Regions from separate parts of the Homo sapiens genome. Here region 1 is linked to region 2. Evidence: promoter capture Hi-C in 16 types of primary human blood cells and fetal thymus (Javierre and others, 2016). All regions are on one chromosome and are shown on one strand. The core of a region is centred on a gene start or on the middle of the fragment in contact, and the rest is flanking DNA. Distances in the headings are between cores, read along the strand shown.

The links. The method cuts DNA at HindIII sites, captures the fragments that hold promoters and counts their contacts. A CHiCAGO score of 5 or more calls a contact.
Region 1: a contact is called between a fragment that was not itself captured here and the fragment with the promoter of SETDB1 in region 2, in 1 of 17 cell types (naive CD4 T cells). The highest score is 5.5, in naive CD4 T cells.

Annotation. Positions count from the first base shown.
Region 1 is chr1:150,465,816-150,469,770 of GRCh38, reverse strand. The region is part of intron 10 of RPRD2 (regulation of nuclear pre-mRNA domain containing 2); the gene reads right to left. Among named protein-coding and RNA genes, the nearest start is that of TARS2, 20 kb to the left of the region's middle. The HindIII fragment of the contact is 7,293 bases long and covers 1-3,955 here.
Region 2 is chr1:150,924,962-150,929,139 of GRCh38, reverse strand. SETDB1 (SET domain bifurcated histone lysine methyltransferase 1) reads right to left here and starts at 2,777. Exons shown (of 22, transcript NM_001366418.1): 1 at 2,623-2,777; 2 at 1,166-1,436. The coding sequence starts at 1,425. LOC107985204 (a long non-coding RNA gene) reads left to right here and starts at 2,799. Exons shown (of 3, transcript XR_001738231.2): 1 at 2,799-2,880. The HindIII fragment of the contact is 13,077 bases long and covers 2,267-4,178 here.

The DNA.
Region 1 (3,955 bases), core at 1,456-3,955, 460 kb after region 2:
TCACTGACAGTCAAAACTTTCTCAGAAGCACTGAGAAAGAATTCTTTGGGGCAAAGGCTGAAGTTCAACAAAGCAAACTGCTCCTGTAGAAAATTTTTTAGAAAAATATTTGACAAAAAGATAACAGAAGGTTCTATAAATTCAATCATATTTTTAAAAATTTACCCAATTTCTGGTCACAAATGAAGACTTTTGGCTGGGCACGGTGGCTCATGCCTGTAATCCTAGCATTTTGGGCAGCAGAGGCAGGAGGATGGCTTGAGGCCAGGAGTTTGAGACCAGCCTGGGAAACACAGAGAGACTCTGTCTCTAAAAAAAATTTAAAAATCAGCTGGGCATGATGGTGCATGCCTGTAGTCCTAGCTACTCAGGAGGCTGAGGCTGGAGAATCACTTGTGCCCAGTTCAAGGTTACAGTAAACTAACTATGACTCTGCCACTGCACACCAGCCTGGGTGGCAAAGTGAGTCTCTGTATTTAAAAATAAATTAATTAAAAAAATTTTTAATATACATTTCACCCAAATTTATAGCTTTTAGTCACTGAATACACTAACATTGTTCCTTAGTAATTATATGATTAAAGAAAATACTTCATGTGATATTTCAATTAACATTTCTTCAAAATTTCAATTTTAACCCATATTCTAACAGATTTGGCCTAAAGAATTTCAAGTCCCCTCCATCCTTGTAACATTTTAAAGCCATTTATTTCTAAATAATGTTGGATGGTCTTTATTGTTATCCAATATTCAGTAATATCCAAACAACTGAAATAATGTTTACTTTAGTTATGATCCTTCTGAAGAAAAAAAAAAATCGGCATGTTTCATTCCAAAAAAAGTTCCCTAGCCACATAATTCATCCCTACTAATAGTTTCCTTTTTTTTTTTCAAGAGACAGGCTCTTGCTCTGTCACCCAGGCTGGAGTGCAGTGGTGCGATCATAGCTCACTGTAACCTCAACCTCTTGGGCTCAAAAGATTTATCTGCCTTAGCTTCCTGAGTAGCTGGGACCACAGGTGTACATCACTATGCCCAGCTAACTTTTTTATTTTTAGTAGAGACAAGGTCTCACCATGTTGCGCAGGCTGATCTCAAAATCTTGGGCTCAAGTGATTGTCCCACTTCAGCCTCCCAAAGTGCTGAGATTACAGGCGTGAGCCACCATGCCCAGCCTGATTTAATTCTTAGTAATCACTGTTCTCACAAAACCCAGAAGTCCTCAAACACTAGAATGTGATATATAATAATGTAATATGATTTTTAGAAGATATTTCAGCATATTTTTCAGATATTTTGGGATAACTTCTTCAAAAGAACATCTTTTTAAGATAGATATACTACTCAGATTTCTGGTAATAGGTAAAATTGTCTCTCACCACTAAATATTACTGTTCTCCAATCTTTTTTTTTTTTAATTATTTTTAAAAATTCTTAAAAACAATAGAGATAGGGGTTTTGCTATATTGACCAGGCTGGTCTCAAACTCCTGGCCTCAAGTGATCCTCCCATCGTGGCCTCCCAAAGTGTTAGGATTACAGGCATGAGCCACTGCGCCCAGCCAAAAGTTTGCTCTTTAATCATAACAAGTCATACTCTGCTCCTTTGCCCACTGAAGTTTCTCTTTTTTTGAGACAGAGTTTTGCTCGTCGCCCAGGCTGGCTCACTGCAACCTCTGCCTTCCGGGTTCAAGCGATTCTCCTACCTCAGCCTCCCAAGTAGTTGGGGTTACAGCTGTGAGCCACCACGCCCAGCTAATTTTTTTGTATTTTTTTTTGGAAAGACAGGTTTACCCTGTTGGCCAGGCTGGTCTTGAACTCCTGACCTCAGGTGATCCACCCGTCCCCAAAGTGCTGGAATTACAGGTGTGACCCACCACACCGGGCCTGAAGTCTCTCTTTTGTGTTATAAATCTGTCAATACCTAGGGCTGTGGATGACACAATCAGAACAAAGTTCTGGGATTTCATTAACAGTCTTCGAGGAAATACATCTATTTAACTTGCTAGATACAATCCTTTTAAAAGTCAAAGAGAATTCCACATTCCATAAGGAACCTAGTTCTGTTCAAATTTTGCCTCATCAGAAATTTCACATCGGCCAGGCACGGTGGTTCACACCTGTAATCCCAGCACTTTGGGAGGTCGAGGCAGGTGGATCACGTGAGGTCAGGAGTTCGAGACCAGCCTGGCCAACATGGCGAAACCCCGTGTCTACTAAAAATACAAAAATTAGCCGGGCATGGTGGTGTGAGCCTGTAATACCAGCTACTCGAGAGGCTGAGGCAAGAGAATCACTTGAACCCGAGAGGCAGAGGTTGCAGTGAGCCGAGATCACACCACTGCACTCCAGCCTGGGCAACAGAGCAAGTCCCCGTCTCAAAAACAAACAAACAAATAAAAATAAAAAGGGAGAAAGCATAAACATGTCAAACTCTCAAATTGTCCCTGATATTAGTAGTACAACATGTGCTGCAGTCATCATCAATTCTTTATTGCTGATGCCAATAGATAGGGGCTGTGGATTATTACTTAATACTATTTAGTTCTGTGTAACAAAATTCTTCTGCACCTCCAGACAAAGTTCACTATAATATGCTTGAATGATCCACTTACATAACAGTTTAGGAAACTGTTTTACACCACTCCTTTGATAGAGAGCAGGGTTTCTCAACCTCAGCACTACTGACACTTTGGGCTAGATAATTCTTTATTGTTGGGGCTGTCTCACACATTGTAGGATATTTAGGAGCATCCTCCTGGCCTCTACTCACTAGAGGCAGTAGCACCCCTACCATTACCCCAGTTGAGACAACTAAAAAGGTCTCCAAATATTGCCAAGTGTCCTCCCTGGAGGCCTTTGGTTGAGACTACTGATATAGAGTAAATCACTACACTGAATATATTGCCCTGGTATTTGTAATTCATTTCATAATTATACTACGGTACTTAAAAAGGATTTCATTGGTATCTGGAGCATAAGAGAGTAGAGAGTAGGAAAGATTTATGAAAAAAGGTTAGAAACAGGCAGTGTCATGCACAAAACATAATTAGTAAAGCTGAACAGAAAGGGTCAAATGAGAGAGATTATAGGTAGGTGAAAACAAAAATACTACATCTAAGACTCTAATAAAATAATAAATAAAATAATAAATAATGAAGCCTCTATAAAACATTAGGACAAAAAAAGATATATTCATGTCTCAGAAATTTTTTTTTTTTTTTTTTTGAGGCAGGGTCTCATCACTTAGGTTGGAGTACAGTGGGGTGACCACAGCGTACTGCAGCCTTGAACTCCTGGGCTCAAGTGATCCTCCTGCCTTAGCCCCCTGAGTAGCTGGAACTACAGGCATGCACCACTATGCCCAGCTAATTTTTTTTTTTTTTTTTTTTTTGAGACAGAGTCTTGCTCTTTTGCCCAGGCTGGAGTGTAGTGGGGCAATCTTGGCTCACTGCAACCTCCACCTCCTGGGTTCACACCATTCTCCTGCCTCAGCCTTCCAAGTAGCCAAGACTACAGGTGCCCGCCACCACGCCCGGCTAATTTTTTGTATTTTTAGTAGAGTCGGGGTTTCACTGTGTTAGCCAGGATGGTATCGATCTCCTGAACTCATGATCCGCCTGCCTCAGCCTCCCAAAGTGCTGGGATTACAGGCGTGAGCCACCGCGCCCGGCGCTAATTTTTAATTCCGTTGTAGAGACAGGGTTTCACTATGTTCTTGAAGCGTCATAAAAAAATTTTTTTTTTTTTTTTTTTTTTTGGACTGAGTCTTGCTCTGTCGTCCAGGCTGGAGTGCAGTAGCGTGATTCCGGCTTACTGCGATCTCAGCACACTACAGGTGTGTGTCACCACACCTGGCTAATTTTCATATTTTTAGTAGAGATGTTATTTCACCTGGTTGGCCAGGCTGGTCTTGAACTGCTGACCTTAGGTGATCTGCCCGCCTCAGCCTCCCA
Region 2 (4,178 bases), core at 1,528-4,027:
AAATACCATTTGACCCAGCAATCCCATTACTGGGTATATACCCAAAGGATTATAAATCATGCTGCTATAAAGACACATGCACACGTATGTTTATTGCGGCACTATCCACAATAGCAAAGACTTTAAACCAACCCAAATGTCCATCAATGATAGACTGGATTAAGAAATGTGGCACATATACACCATGGAATACTATGCAGCCATAAAAAAGGATGAGTTCATGTCCTTTGTAGGCACATGGATGAAGCTGGAAACCATCATTCTGAGCAAACTATAGCAAGGACAGAAAACCAAACACCGCACGTTCTCATTCATAGGTGGGAATTGAACAATGAGAACACCTGGACACAGGATGGGGAACGTCACATACTGGGGCCTGTCGTGGGGTGGGGGGAAGGGGGAGGGATAGTATTAGGAGATATACCTAATGTAAGTGACACCAACATGGCACATGTATACATATGTAATAAACCTGCACGTTGTGCACATATACCCTAGAACTTAAAGTATAATAAATTTAAAAACAATGTATTCTAAGTGACAACTAGAGCACCAGAAACAAATCTTTTGGGGGTATGGGAACTTACTAATGCTTCAGAGTTACGTAAGACAGAAATTCTTTACAATCCTCACTCCCTGGATGATCTTACTAGGGAAATGAAGCAATTGTTCTAAGATAGAGCACAGGAGGAAGAAGGGGAAAGGACTTAAGACTTGGACTCCCTTACTGCTGATCATGTATTAGCTGCTGACAGATGAAAATTATATTTACGGCTGATTGTAAGGTCAGATTTTTGACCATAAACTTTGAGGAAGAGTAAGGTTCTAAACATCTGTACTTCATAAAGTATAAAATGTTTGGTACACAGCCTGGCCAACATGGTGAAACCCTGTCTCTACTAAAAATATAAAAAATTAGCTGGGTGTGGTGGCGGATGCCTATAATTCCAGCTACTCGGGAGGGGGAGGTGGGAGAATCACTTGAACCCGAGAGGTGGAGGTTGCAGTGAGCCAGGATCACTCCACTGCACTCTAGCTTGGGTGACAGAGCGAGACTCCGTCTCAAAACATAAAATAAAATGCTTGGTTCAATGTCATGAACAATTATTCTCTAAAAACATCTCCCAATGGAGAGATTTCCTTCTATTTTCCATGGAGTTCTCACCTGGATGCATCATCAAAGAGTTGGTCAACGTGAGCCACCTCAGATTCTTTCTGTATTACCCATGTCTCTAACTCTGCTAGCTGCTTCTTGCGTTGCTGTACACAATCCATCTTCTCCAGTTCCTCATCGATGAAATGCCGAAGTTCCTCCATAGAGATACCCAGTTCCTCAACCACTGCCTGTTGCAGCTCTGCAATCTCTTCAGACTCCACTGTAGCTGTTGCTGCATCCAAACCAATGCACCCAGGAAGGGAAGACATGCTTTTGTCCTCTGCATGGAACAGAAAACAAATTAAATTGGAGTCCTTATAACTACAATCAATCAATAGAGAATTTCAGTTCCCTAATAAAACTAATTCCTACTCTGCTGCCTGTTATTCTATTCAAATATTCCATGTTCTCCCTCCCTATTCTCCAGAATCTGATGCTGAGATTTTTAAGAGTTCTTATCTTCTGCTGTACGCTAACACTCCTGAAAAAGATTTAAGAGTTTGAGACGGCATGGAGAACATTCATTAAGCAGTAGAGAGCTACTGAAAATAATGTTTTGGGCTGGCACAGTGGCTTACACCTGTAATCTCAGCACTTTTAGAGGCCGAGGCAGGAGGGTCGCTTGAGGGCAGGAGTTCAAGACCAGCCTGGGCAACATGGCAAGACTCGTCTTTACAAAAAAATACAAAAATTAGCCACGTGTGGTGGTGCACGCCTTTAGTTCCAGCTACTCAGGAGGCTGAAGTGGGAGGATCGCTTGAGCCCAGGAGTAGCTGCTGTAGTGAGCTATGTTCGCGCCATGCATTCCAGCTTGGGTGACAAAGTGAGACCCTGTCTCAAAACAAACCGAACTTTAAAAATAATCTTTTGGGATACTGAAGAGAACCAATCTATAAGATATTTTTGTGGTCTATATGTGTTCCTTAACTAATGTGATAAATCTTTGTATGCTATGCCTAATTTAAACAAAACCCCACCTGGGGATGGAGTTGATTTGGAACTCACTAACTCAGTGTTTTCTCTTTCATTACTTGTTCCCCTTATATTACTTTGCTTCCATGTGGAATTTTACTTTTTAAAAAGTCTATGATATTCAAACACACGAAAGCTTGCAGCAAAAAGGTTTCCCCCAAAGTACAGAGAAGTAAAGCAACCTGGGAATAAAACGTGGGTACCTAATATCCACAATCCAAATACTTCACACATTCGTGTGAACTGCTTTTTTAATCAAACGGTTAAAGAAAATCTGATTTTCAGCGCCTCCATTTTCCTCTGCCCACACACCAGCCCACCCCCGTGCTACCCATTCTAGGGGTGCGTCCTACCCATTCGCAAACCCAGTTCAGCCCCGCCCCCGTTCGCCTCTGGGGAAGACTTCCTTCCCACCCTCGCCCGACCCCCTCCCACAAACAAAACGTCCCAGATAAGCCTTTGGTCACCAAATAACTCAACAGTATTCCCCGCACCTCCCGTCTTCCAGCTTCAAGGGCTCTTTTTCACCAACCAGACCCCAGACTCACAACTCAGGGGTCGGCCTCGACGGAAAAGAGCGAAAGCGAAGGGATAAGGGAGGAGGGGGAGGGGAGGAAGCGTGAAAGAGGGAAGGGGAAGCAAAAGAAACGCCCGGAAGCAAACCTTTAGTGCCGTTCCGGTCACCGCGACGGTAGCCTGACGGGGTCAAATCCAAAGCCGCGGGGCGCCCCTCAGAGGCGACGAAAACTAAGGTAACTACGCATGCGTTAAGGCAGAGCCTTCCAGGGGCACACGTGAGAAGAGACTGGCAGGGCAGAGTAGGCGTGGCCAGTATATTACCGAGTCTCCGCCGCTCCTACCACCCTCGACTAGTGGCCCCATTACTATATTCATTGTGTAAAGACTTAGGGAAACGCTCATAGGTTCAGAGCTTTATTCTCTCAGTTTTACTTGAGTTTGTTTTGTTACATAAGTGATACAAATTGTAAAGGCTATCAAGATGTAATAAGAAAAACGTGATAATATTCTCTCTTGCCCCATCACCACTCCGCTCCTTTCAGGTAATACAGCTTCATTTTCCAGTCTTGTATGTACGAGTTTCTGTATTTGGATTTTTGTTGTTTTCATTTAACATGTGGACATTACCTGAAGCCAATAAAAAAGGTAAAACTTGTATTTTTGGCCGGGCGCGGTAGCTCACGCCTGTAATCCCAGCACTTTGGGAGTCAGAGGCGGGCGGATCACGAGGTCAGGAGATGGAGATCATCCTGGCTAACACGGTGAAACCCCGTCTGTACTAAAAATGTTAGCCGGGCGTGGTGGCGGGCGCCTGTAGTCCCAGCTACTCGGGAGGCTGAGGCAGGAGAATGGCGTGAACCCGGGAGGCGGTGCTTGCGGTGAGCGGAGATCGCGCCACTGCACTCCAGCCTGGGCGACAGAGCGAGACTCCGTCTCAAAAAAACCAAAAAAAACAAAAAAACAAAAAACCAATAACTTGTATTTTTGACACCTGAATAGTTTAGATTGTTTAGATTGTTTTCCGTTCTCAGCCCCGACAAATAGCGCAACAATAAAAATAAACATCCTTTTGAAGTAGTACTTTTATTTCTGTAGAAAAGATTCCCCAGGCCGGGCGCTTTGTGTCCGAGGCGGGAGGATTGCTAGAGCCCAGGAGTTCCAGACCAGCCTGGGCAACACGGCGAAACGCCATCTCGACTAAAAATACAAGGTAAAAAAAAAAAAAAAAAAGCCAGGCGTGGTAGTTCGCGTCTGTGGTCCCAGCAACTCCGCAGCTGAGGCGGGGGGAGGATCGCTTGAGCCCCGGTGGCAGAGGCTTCAGTGAGAGGAGATCGCGCCACTGCACTCCAGCCTAAGTGACCGAGCGAGACTCCGTCTCAAAAACAAAACAAAACAAAAAACAAAAAGAAAAGATTTCCCAAAATGGAATTTGAGTAAAATAATATGTGCTTTTTTCCTTTTTTTTTTTTTTTTTTTTTTTTTTGAGAAGGCGTTTCGTTCTATCGCCCAGGCTGGAGTGCAATGGCGCGAT